2 separate regions of the Homo sapiens genome follow, and region 2 is linked to region 1. Evidence: promoter capture Hi-C in 16 types of primary human blood cells and fetal thymus (Javierre and others, 2016). All regions are on one chromosome and are shown on one strand. Each heading gives the region's core, a stretch centred on a gene start or on the middle of the fragment in contact. The rest is flanking DNA. Distances are from core to core; before and after follow the strand shown.

The links. Contacts are between HindIII fragments. The CHiCAGO score rates a contact against its expected background, and 5 or more counts as called.
Region 2: a contact is called between the fragment with the promoter of INCA1 here and a fragment that was not itself captured in region 1, in 3 of 17 cell types (M1 macrophages, M0 macrophages and neutrophils). The highest score is 6.4, in M1 macrophages.

The regions. Positions count from the first base shown.
Region 1 is chr17:4,944,398-4,949,000 of GRCh38, reverse strand. RNF167 (ring finger protein 167) reads right to left here. Exons shown (of 10, transcript NM_015528.3): 9 at 4,363-4,443; 10 at 3,779-4,286. The coding sequence ends at 3,985. PFN1 (profilin 1) reads left to right here and starts at 471. Exons shown (of 3, transcript NM_005022.4): 1 at 471-738; 2 at 2,181-2,373; 3 at 3,004-3,349. The coding sequence starts at 607. The coding sequence ends at 3,101. It also overlaps a transcript of ENO3 not described here. RefSeq lists silencers at 1-131, 262-601, 872-941, 972-1,201 and enhancers at 2,562-2,641, 3,312-3,481, 3,542-3,631, 3,642-3,691, 4,562-4,603 and 1 more. The HindIII fragment of the contact is 1,081 bases long and covers 2,813-3,893 here.
Region 2 is chr17:4,996,272-5,000,645 of GRCh38, reverse strand. INCA1 (inhibitor of CDK, cyclin A1 interacting protein 1) reads left to right here and starts at 3,124. Exons shown (of 7, transcript NM_001394789.1): 1 at 3,124-3,150. It overlaps KIF1C (kinesin family member 1C), which reads right to left and starts at 2,696. Exons shown (of 23, transcript NM_006612.6): 1 at 2,490-2,696; 2 at 676-796; 3 at 294-426. The coding sequence starts at 399. RefSeq lists enhancers at 1-379, 380-991 and silencers at 2,234-2,333, 2,384-3,253, 3,294-3,383. The HindIII fragment of the contact is 6,815 bases long and covers 2,538-4,374 here.

The DNA of each region.
Region 1 (4,603 bases), core at 2,104-4,603:
GCAGGCGCAGGCGCGGGCACACGCGCCGCCGCCCGCCGGTCCTTCCCTTCGGCGGAGGTGGGGGAAGGAGGAGTCATCCCGTTTAACCCTGGGCTCCCCGAACTCTCCTTAATTTGCTAAATTTGCAGCTTGCTAATTCCTCCTGCTTTCTCCTTCCTTCCTTCTTCTGGCTCACTCCCTGCCCCGATACCAAAGTCTGGTTTATATTCAGTGCAAATTGGAGCAAACCCTACCCTTCACCTCTCTCCCGCCACCCCCCATCCTTCTGCATTGCTTTCCATCGAACTCTGCAAATTTTGCAATAGGGGGAGGGATTTTTAAAATTGCATTTGCAAAGTTCGGTGTCTGGGCTGGCGAGTGGGGGAGGGAGGGAATGGGGAGTAGGCCCCGCCCCTACCGTCCTTTGCAAATAAAAATCTAGCGGGGCGGGGGGGGGGAGGAGCAGGAAGTGGCGGTGCGAGGGCTGCTGCACAGCGAGCGGAGCCGCGGTCCGGACGGCAGCGCGTGCCCCGAGCTCTCCGCCTCCCCCCGCCCGCCAGCCGAGGCAGCTCGAGCCCAGTCCGCGGCCCCAGCAGCAGCGCCGAGAGCAGCCCCAGTAGCAGCGCCATGGCCGGGTGGAACGCCTACATCGACAACCTCATGGCGGACGGGACCTGTCAGGACGCGGCCATCGTGGGCTACAAGGACTCGCCCTCCGTCTGGGCCGCCGTCCCCGGGAAAACGTTCGTCAACATCACGGTACTGCGAGGCCTGCGCGGTCCGGGGCACTGCTCCGGTTTGGACCCTGAGGGAGGGACTTGGGTGGGGGCGGGCGCGGTCTAGGGCGCGCAGCGAGAGGCCCTGACTGGGTGCTTGCCCTGGAAGCGGCGCGAATGGCGGCTGCACGTGAGTGGGTCCCTCAGTTGCCCGTAGGTCCTATGCCCCAGGCGGCGGCGCCCATCCCGCCCGCTACCCCGCTTTCCGCGACGGGGCGTTACATCCGGGGCACAGGGCGGGGAGGGGCGCGGCGCCCGGTGCGGCGGCCCACTTCCGCCTCTCCCAGGGCGGGGCGGGGACGCGCCTCAGTTTTTACTGGGGATTGGGATTGAGAGGGGACCCGGGGATCCTTGGACCCCCAGCTCCCCGTCCGGCTGCCAGCCCGCGTCCCTCTACCATTGTTTCTCCTGGTGCGGAAGGGAGCCCCAGGCGCGTGGTCTTGGTCCCTTGCCCACCCTCTGTGGGCTTCTGGCCCCTCCTAACTCCGTTAGAGAGGGCGAGGCCACCACACGCCCCCCCAGCTCAGCACGTTGGATTCAACATTCCTGCGAGGCCAATCCCGGAAGTCCCCTCGCCCTCCCTTCCCGCCATCCGGCGGGGCCTGGAGCAGGGGAACTTTGTGAGAAGTTCTGAGACAGCATAAGCGAAAGTATATTGGTTTACTACCGCTGCTCCCACCACCATCTCCCTGTCCACACTGCCCGGAAGTGGGGAGGGGGAGCGGAAGTTCAAAAGGGGGGGGAAGGGGGTTTCCGGGCGGGAGGGGACCGGATGTGGGGGCTTGGGGTGAAAGGGGGAGGGGGGAAAGGTTCCCGGGGTACCTAGACCCGAGAGCTGGCCTGCCGGGTCTGGCCCCTGTCCACCTTCAAAAGTTTTCCAACTTTCCCGGAAAGCCCCCAGGGGTCTGCTTCCTCATCTCAGAGCAGAGATACCTGGAGCTAAACTCTAGGTTACTTGGAGACCCAGGCGTCCGGGCCCTAACAGCTCCTGCAGAACCTTTGACCAAATAAGGGCAAAGTTGCTTCTCTTGCCTCGCCCGCCCCCCTCCCTTCCCCTCTCCGCTTCTGCTTTTCCTGAAGGAGAGTTCTGAGCATCCAAAGGCTCCTCACTTACCTCACTGACTCCCTTTATTTCCTGGGTTTACTTTCCCCATTAACACTGACATCTAAATCTCTAGAGGAGTATGTCATCCCTTCCTCCCTGGTTCCATATTCTAAGTTTCAGAATCATGATCTTTTTCTGCACTAACGTCCCACAGTCCTCAGAGTTTCTCACAGTTCATTGATGTGTACTGAGTATATAATTTATACTTAGCCCCCACGGCGGGGTGGTTCTCAGAAGTGGAAGACAGGTGGGTCTTTGGAGAACACGGTGGGAATCTTGGTGCACTGACTAACTTGATGGGCGCTTGGTTCCTCTTCCAGCCAGCTGAGGTGGGTGTCCTGGTTGGCAAAGACCGGTCAAGTTTTTACGTGAATGGGCTGACACTTGGGGGCCAGAAATGTTCGGTGATCCGGGACTCACTGCTGCAGGATGGGGAATTTAGCATGGATCTTCGTACCAAGAGCACCGGTGGGGCCCCCACCTTCAATGTCACTGTCACCAAGACTGACAAGAGTGAGTTCCTGAGTCTTACCCTTCCTTTAGCTCCAAGATCTCTAATGTACCGCCTTCTGGTAATCTTGAGGGTGCTTTTTTGTGTGATTCCCCAACATGAAGGGAGTCAGACCAGTATTGTGTTCCTTGTCTGCTGGATGCTGGAACACGGGATAGTCCCTCCATTCTGTCTCAGTTCCTCATCTTGTAATTCGAAGTTGCTGAACTGCATTACCTCTTAAATTACTTACTGCCTTGAGCTCGGATTAGAAACTGTTTTCTAGGAGTATAGGTAGATTGTTGGGGTCTTGAATCATCGAGTTCATCGTTTGAGTTCTTTTGTTAGAACCTGGAGGTGGCATGCACATCCACAGCCCTTTCTAGCCTGAACACATGAATCAACAGTCTATGAGCCTTTGACCCCTAAGTTTTTAGTCTGTTCCTCTCCAGCGTTTAAGCTTGATTTTCCTCTTTTGAAAAGCCTTATTGTTTCAGGGTGACTGACAGCCTGCCTGTGTGTGGTGGGGGGGCGGGTTGGGAGAGATGAGGTTGGGTTACAGCCCCCAGGGCTGGACAGCTGCTGAACAGCTGGCAGGGGGTGGAATTGTGACACCTGGATCCTAGCCTCCTTTCTCTTTCCTCCTCCTCCAGCGCTAGTCCTGCTGATGGGCAAAGAAGGTGTCCACGGTGGTTTGATCAACAAGAAATGTTATGAAATGGCCTCCCACCTTCGGCGTTCCCAGTACTGACCTCGTCTGTCCCTTCCCCTTCACCGCTCCCCACAGCTTTGCACCCCTTTCCTCCCCATACACACACAAACCATTTTATTTTTTGGGCCATTACCCCATACCCCTTATTGCTGCCAAAACCACATGGGCTGGGGGCCAGGGCTGGATGGACAGACACCTCCCCCTACCCATATCCCTCCCGTGTGTGGTTGGAAAACTTTTGTTTTTTGGGGTTTTTTTTTTCTGAATAAAAAAGATTCTACTAACAAGGTGCTGTGTGATTTGAGCTTGGGTGTCAGAATGGGGGATAGGCACTGTGACTTGCCTCCTTTATCGTGGCTTGGGAGCAGGGAGGTTGAGGTACTACAAGGTGCAGGAATTTGAGCTTCTGGCCAGGTGGCCCTGCCCCTCCACAGTGGCATTTCCAGGCCTAAGTCCTCAGTGTGCTGGTCAAATTGGTGGATGATGGAATAGAGCCATCTGGACCAGAGAATGGGTGCAGGCCTGCAGGCAAGGCAGGGCTAGTTGAGTCATCCTTGTGGGTGGGGCTCCCCCTTCTGAGTCATAGCAAATGCCGGCTGGGGCTGTCCCCATGACTATAGGTTAGTGTCTCTCAGCATTCCCTTGCTCCTTATGGCTAAAGGGGTGATTCCACCAAAGGGTTAAGTTCACCTGTGTGAGAATGATCTTACCCTTCCTTAGTCCACAAAGAAACAATTTTATTAGCCCAAGAAGTGAAGACCCAGTCCCTCTGCTTGCCCCAGCTCCACCCCAAAGCCCCTCAAAAGGATAGGTGTGGGTAAGGGAGAAGCTTGGGATGGAATGTCCCCTATCCCTCAGAAGACTGGAGGGAAGACGACGGTCTGTGCAAATAGGTCACCAGAGGTGTATGTGTGGGGGGTTATTAGACCAGGATAACAGGGGAAGAGGGAGGGGACAGTGGGGGATCTGTTGAAGGCCCAGGAAAAACAAGGGGAGCTGGGGCTAAGGAACCAAAGGAGGTGGGAAGAGTGGGGCTAGAACCCAAAAGTGGGGTCCTTTCTGAGGCAGGGTGGTCCCTTGGCTCCCCTTCATCACCCTCCTCTTGCCCTTGAGTTTCTTCCTCTTGGTCTTCGTCCCCAGGACCCCGATGAACAGGCTGCTTGCAAATGGGGCAGGTCTTCCGGGTCTGAGTGAGCCAGGGGTCCACGCAGCGGCTGTGGTAGGCTGCAGAGAGGAACAAGGTGAAGCACCTGGTGGCTGCTGGTGGCAGAGGGGCATGGGCAGGCAGTGAGGGCCTCACCATGAGCACAGGGGAGTACCCGCAGCTTGTCCCCATCCTCATATTCATCCAGGCAAATGGCACAGACATCATACTGGTCTCCTGGGACAGAAAGAAAATAATCTAGTCCTTCACTGAGCCACAATGACCCAGGGCTAAGGCTTTTAAAGCCTTGCAAAAATTTCCCCTCACCTACAAAGCCAGTGGAAGAGATAAGACAGGTAGGCAGGATAAGGTCAGGGCAGAACATGGAAGAATTTAG
Region 2 (4,374 bases), core at 1,875-4,374, 52 kb before region 1:
CCTTTAACATTCCCCACCCCCTCCAGCCACCAAAGCTAATTTTGGCTTCCTAGGACCCGCCCCCACTGAGCTGCCTCCCTGGATTGGGCAATGGAGGGCTCCAGGCCAACATTCCCCCTCCCAGGGACTGGGAACACGGGAAAGGCCAGCCTGCCCCAGCCCCCGCCCTTACGACTAGCACCTGCTCTGTGCCCAGCATTACCCTCCTCTTAGTTTGGCCCAGCGGGACTGGCCTGTGTGGTGGGCCCGGCCTTCCCTGCCTGTGCCCAGCCAGGCCCCGGGGACTCACTCACAGGTGGTGTTGCCCTGCATGCTGACCACACACTTGGCATCCTGGCTGGTCTCACGGGCGTTAAAGGGCCGAACCCTCACTGCCACTTTCACCGAGGCACCAGCCATAGCTCCAGACACTCCTGCCCTCCTCAGCTGGAGGACAGAGAAAGGAGTGGTGGGGTCAGAACCACTGCAGGGACCCAGACATTGCCTCCCAGCTTCTTCCCGGAACCAGTCTCTTCACATCTCCCCCAGAGCCACCCAGCCTCTCAAGGACCCAGCTCTTATTCCCTTGGCTTTCCTCCCAAATGTCACTGTCTTGAGAGACTCCCAAAGGTATTTCTGCCTCTCTCCCCAGCCATATTCCAGCTTGCAGGAACCTGGGCGGTCTCCCCCAGTTACCTGGCGTCCTGGCCCCAGACCAGGGGGGCTGTATCAGTTCTGGCTGCCACCGGCCCTCGTAGGGGGAGCCCCATCCTACTCCTGGGGCCTGGCCACACCAGCTGGGGCTCTGGGAGATACCCTGATTGCGGGGGAAGAGTTGTTAGAAGGCACCTGTGGTTCCAGAGACCCGTCTGGGGTTCCCAGGTTGGAGGGCCAAGGTTACGGGGGGAATAGCAGGAAAAGTACGGACAGCTGCCCCTCTAGAGTGGCTGAATGCAATGTGAATCCAAGGGCAGGGACGGTGATATTTTTATTCCTTGTCACTCGCAAATGTACTGAACGTTCAGATAGAGGACAGAGAGAGAAAGAGGCTGGACAGAGGGCAATTCAGAGAGAGGGGCACATGGGCAGAGACGTGAGGGGGGTGGGAAGAGAGAGAGGAGGGGCAGAGAGTCACAGACACCAAGAAAATTAGAGAAATAAGACAAAAGGCAAGCCTGAGGTCATGCTATGAAGGAAAGAATGGGAGAGGAAAGGAGGAAGAGACACAGCACAGCAAACACACGGTGTTAAAGAGACAGGGTGGGGAACTCCGGCGCCAAAGCACAAACTGGGAGCCCAGAAGAGAGACCAGAGAGGAAACTGCAAATGCAAAACCTGTCCTCAAATTCCCCCACAGTGTCGGCAAGGGAGAATCTAGTTTCCACCTGAGGCCCACAACCTCCATGCACCAGGCCAGTAGTGCAGATGGGCAAAGTCCAAGGACTGTAGGTAGGGCCCAGGACTGGGATCCACAGGGCCAGCTGTGTGGGCTCTAAGCCCCTTGCCCAGCCCCCAGCACTTCCTCCTCAGGATCCGGGACAATGAGCAGGGGAGGGTGGGGTCATCCTGTAGCCATCAGACCAACCCTCAGGGCTCCACCCTTGGGGCGCCCAGAAATACCTGTGTTTGAGGGTAGAGGGTCCCTGGGGCCTCCCTAAAAGGGAGAAAGAAAAGGAAGCCGGCTGGCTGGTGCCAGCCCCAACCTGGGGCTAGTGCTATGGCGTCCACTGCCCTGGGGAAGGTGCCAGGCTGGAGCCCAGGAATGTGGGTGATCGGGTGCCCACACCCTGGGAGGAGAGGCTGAGCAGCCCACGCCCACGGACAACAGGGAGGAGGACCACGAAGGATAAGGGATGCGGAGCCCCCTCCTGTGGCCCCAGTGGACCCCAAACTCCTGTCACGCTGGGCCTCCCCTCACCAGTCTTCCTGGGCAGAGCATGGGAGGGTGAGGGGCTGGTCTGTCCCAGGACAGGAAGGGAGTAGCTGGAATCACAGAAGCTGGCTCAGGAAGAACAGCCCTGACCCCCTAGACCCTGACCAGGGGAGGGAAGGACACTGGTGGGGACAAGCGATGGTGACGCCGTTGCTGCAGCTAATGGGACAGGGATGGGGTGGCACGGCTGGGGGCCAGCGGGGTAAGGGAATAGAGGTAGGGACAGGGGTCGGCCGGTGCAGCTGTGAAGGAGCCGTGGGGTACAAGGAGGATACTGGGCGGCTGGGGTGGGGCCGACCGGCCCGAAAGGGGGTCTTGGGCCACCTGCACCTTGCCCACCCGGCGGTTCTCACACAGGTCCCCGCCCGGCCTCTCAGGGCGGCCATGCGGACCCGTCCTCCTGTCCAGCCAGCCGGCGGCCGCCCGGGCCTGGCACCTCTCTGCGCCTCCGCGGAACAAACAGCACATGATCCCGACTCTTGAGCCTAGATCGCGCCGCCGGACCCCGGCTCCCCGCCCCCCAACCCGGCACATTCCTCCGCGGGCGTCCCTTCCCTCCCCCTTCCCCAGCCCTCACCTCGGCGCGGCGGGGCTCCCGGAGCAGCTCGGCGGAGAGGGACAAGCTTTCCGGGAAGCGTGAGGCGGAAGCGGGAAGGATCTGGGGCCGGTTCGGAGCTGCCCCCGCCCCTCGCCGGGTGCCCGGGCGGCGGGCGGCGGACTCGCGCCCCGGGGGCGGCAGCAGTAGCGGCGCCAGCGGCCGGCGCCCGCCCGGGCAGCGCGAGCTGGGGCGGGAGCGAGGGGCGGGGGACGCGCGAGCGCGCGCGGAGGGGCGGGTACGCGCGGTCCCGGGAAGGAGCCGGGAGCGACCCGGGCTACTCTTGTTAAAGGGGCAACGCTCCTGGCCTGTGGGGCCCAGCGAGCGGGAACGTGGGGACCGAGCTGCGGACGCAGAAGGGCGAGCAGACGCCGCAACCCAGGAGGGTTGCAGACGCCTGAAGAACAGGGAAACGTCGGGGGCTGACCCGCGGGGGCACCCAGGCCCCGGCCCAGTTCCCGTCGCCGCCGTTGGAGGCGCGTCCAGGGGGCGGAGCCTCCTGCCGAGGCCCGCCCAGAAGGTGGCTCCGCTCAGGCCCCGCCCTCAGACGAGCACCGCCCGCCGGCTCCTCCCGCGGCTCGAATCGCCGTCTCTCTCCTCCCCGCCCCGCCGAGTTCTAGAATTCGCCGCGCAGCTGCTTCAGGTGCTGGGGCCAAATGCGGCCGGCCGTGGCGCGGCTACTCGGGCGCTCTGTCCCCGCCTGGCCCTCAAGTTCGGCCGCCCTGGACGCCGCCTGAGGCCCAAACAACCCCTTCAGGCCCGGGTGCCGCCTAAGGCCGGAGCTGCCCTCTCAGACCCGGGGCGTCCCTCAGGCCCCAGCCTGCCCTTCAGCCTGGGCCCACCACCTCAGGGCCCCTCTCGAGGGAAGCAGCCCCCAGTCGTGCCCTCGGGCGGGGCTGCCCGGAAGGTCCGGCCACGCCCGGTCCACCTGTCGAGGGTCCCCGTCGCCCTTTCAGGCGCAGGCCGCGCCCTCCGGCCCGGCGCTTCCCTCCAGCGGGGCTCCAGGCAGCCCCTCAGCCCCAGCCGGACCCTCGGGTCCTCATCCACCCTCGCAGGCGCAGGCCGTGGCTACCCCGAAGTCAACTGTGGAGGATCCTTCCTGGCTTCCTTCAGCTCCATCCTGCCCTTGGATCTAGGTCACCCGCTTGGACCCAACTATCTGAGGCCCGAATGCCCCGCAGCTCCCGCTGCTCCCTCGCGTTCTGCTGACCCCCCTCCGAGTCAGGACATCCCCTTTAGACCCCACTTTAGGCCCTTTCAGCCCAACTCCAACTAGCCCCATCTGCCGCTTCCGCACGGTATACTTCTCTCCGCTTTTGACCTCACCTGCTTTCCCAGCCCATCCCTAGTTCCCTTGGATAAATACTAGTTCACCTCTACAGTTCCAGCTGGCTGCTTCTGTCCTTCGGGAGCCTATGTGCACTCTCTCCTAACTTATCTAGTATTCTTTTTTTTTTTTTTTTTTTTTTTTTGAGACGGAGTCTTGCTCTGTTGCCCAGGCTGACCTCGGCTCACGGCAACCTCCGCCTCCTGGGTTCAAGCGATTCTCCTGCCTCAGCCTCCCGAATAGCTGGGATTACAGATGCCTGCCACCACACCCGGCTAATTTTTGTATTTTTAGTAGAGACTGGGTTTCGCTGTGTTGGCCAGGCTGGTCTCGAACTCCTGACCTCAAGTGATCCGCCCACCTCAGCCTCCCAAAGTGCTGGGATTACAGTCTTGAGCCACCGCGCCTGGCTTTTTTTTTTTTCTTCTTAGAAACAGGGTCTCACTCTGACGCCTAGGCTGGAGTGCAGTGCAGTGGTGCGATCTTACCTCACTGCAGCCTTGACCTCCCGGGCTCAGATGACACTCCCACCTCAGCCTT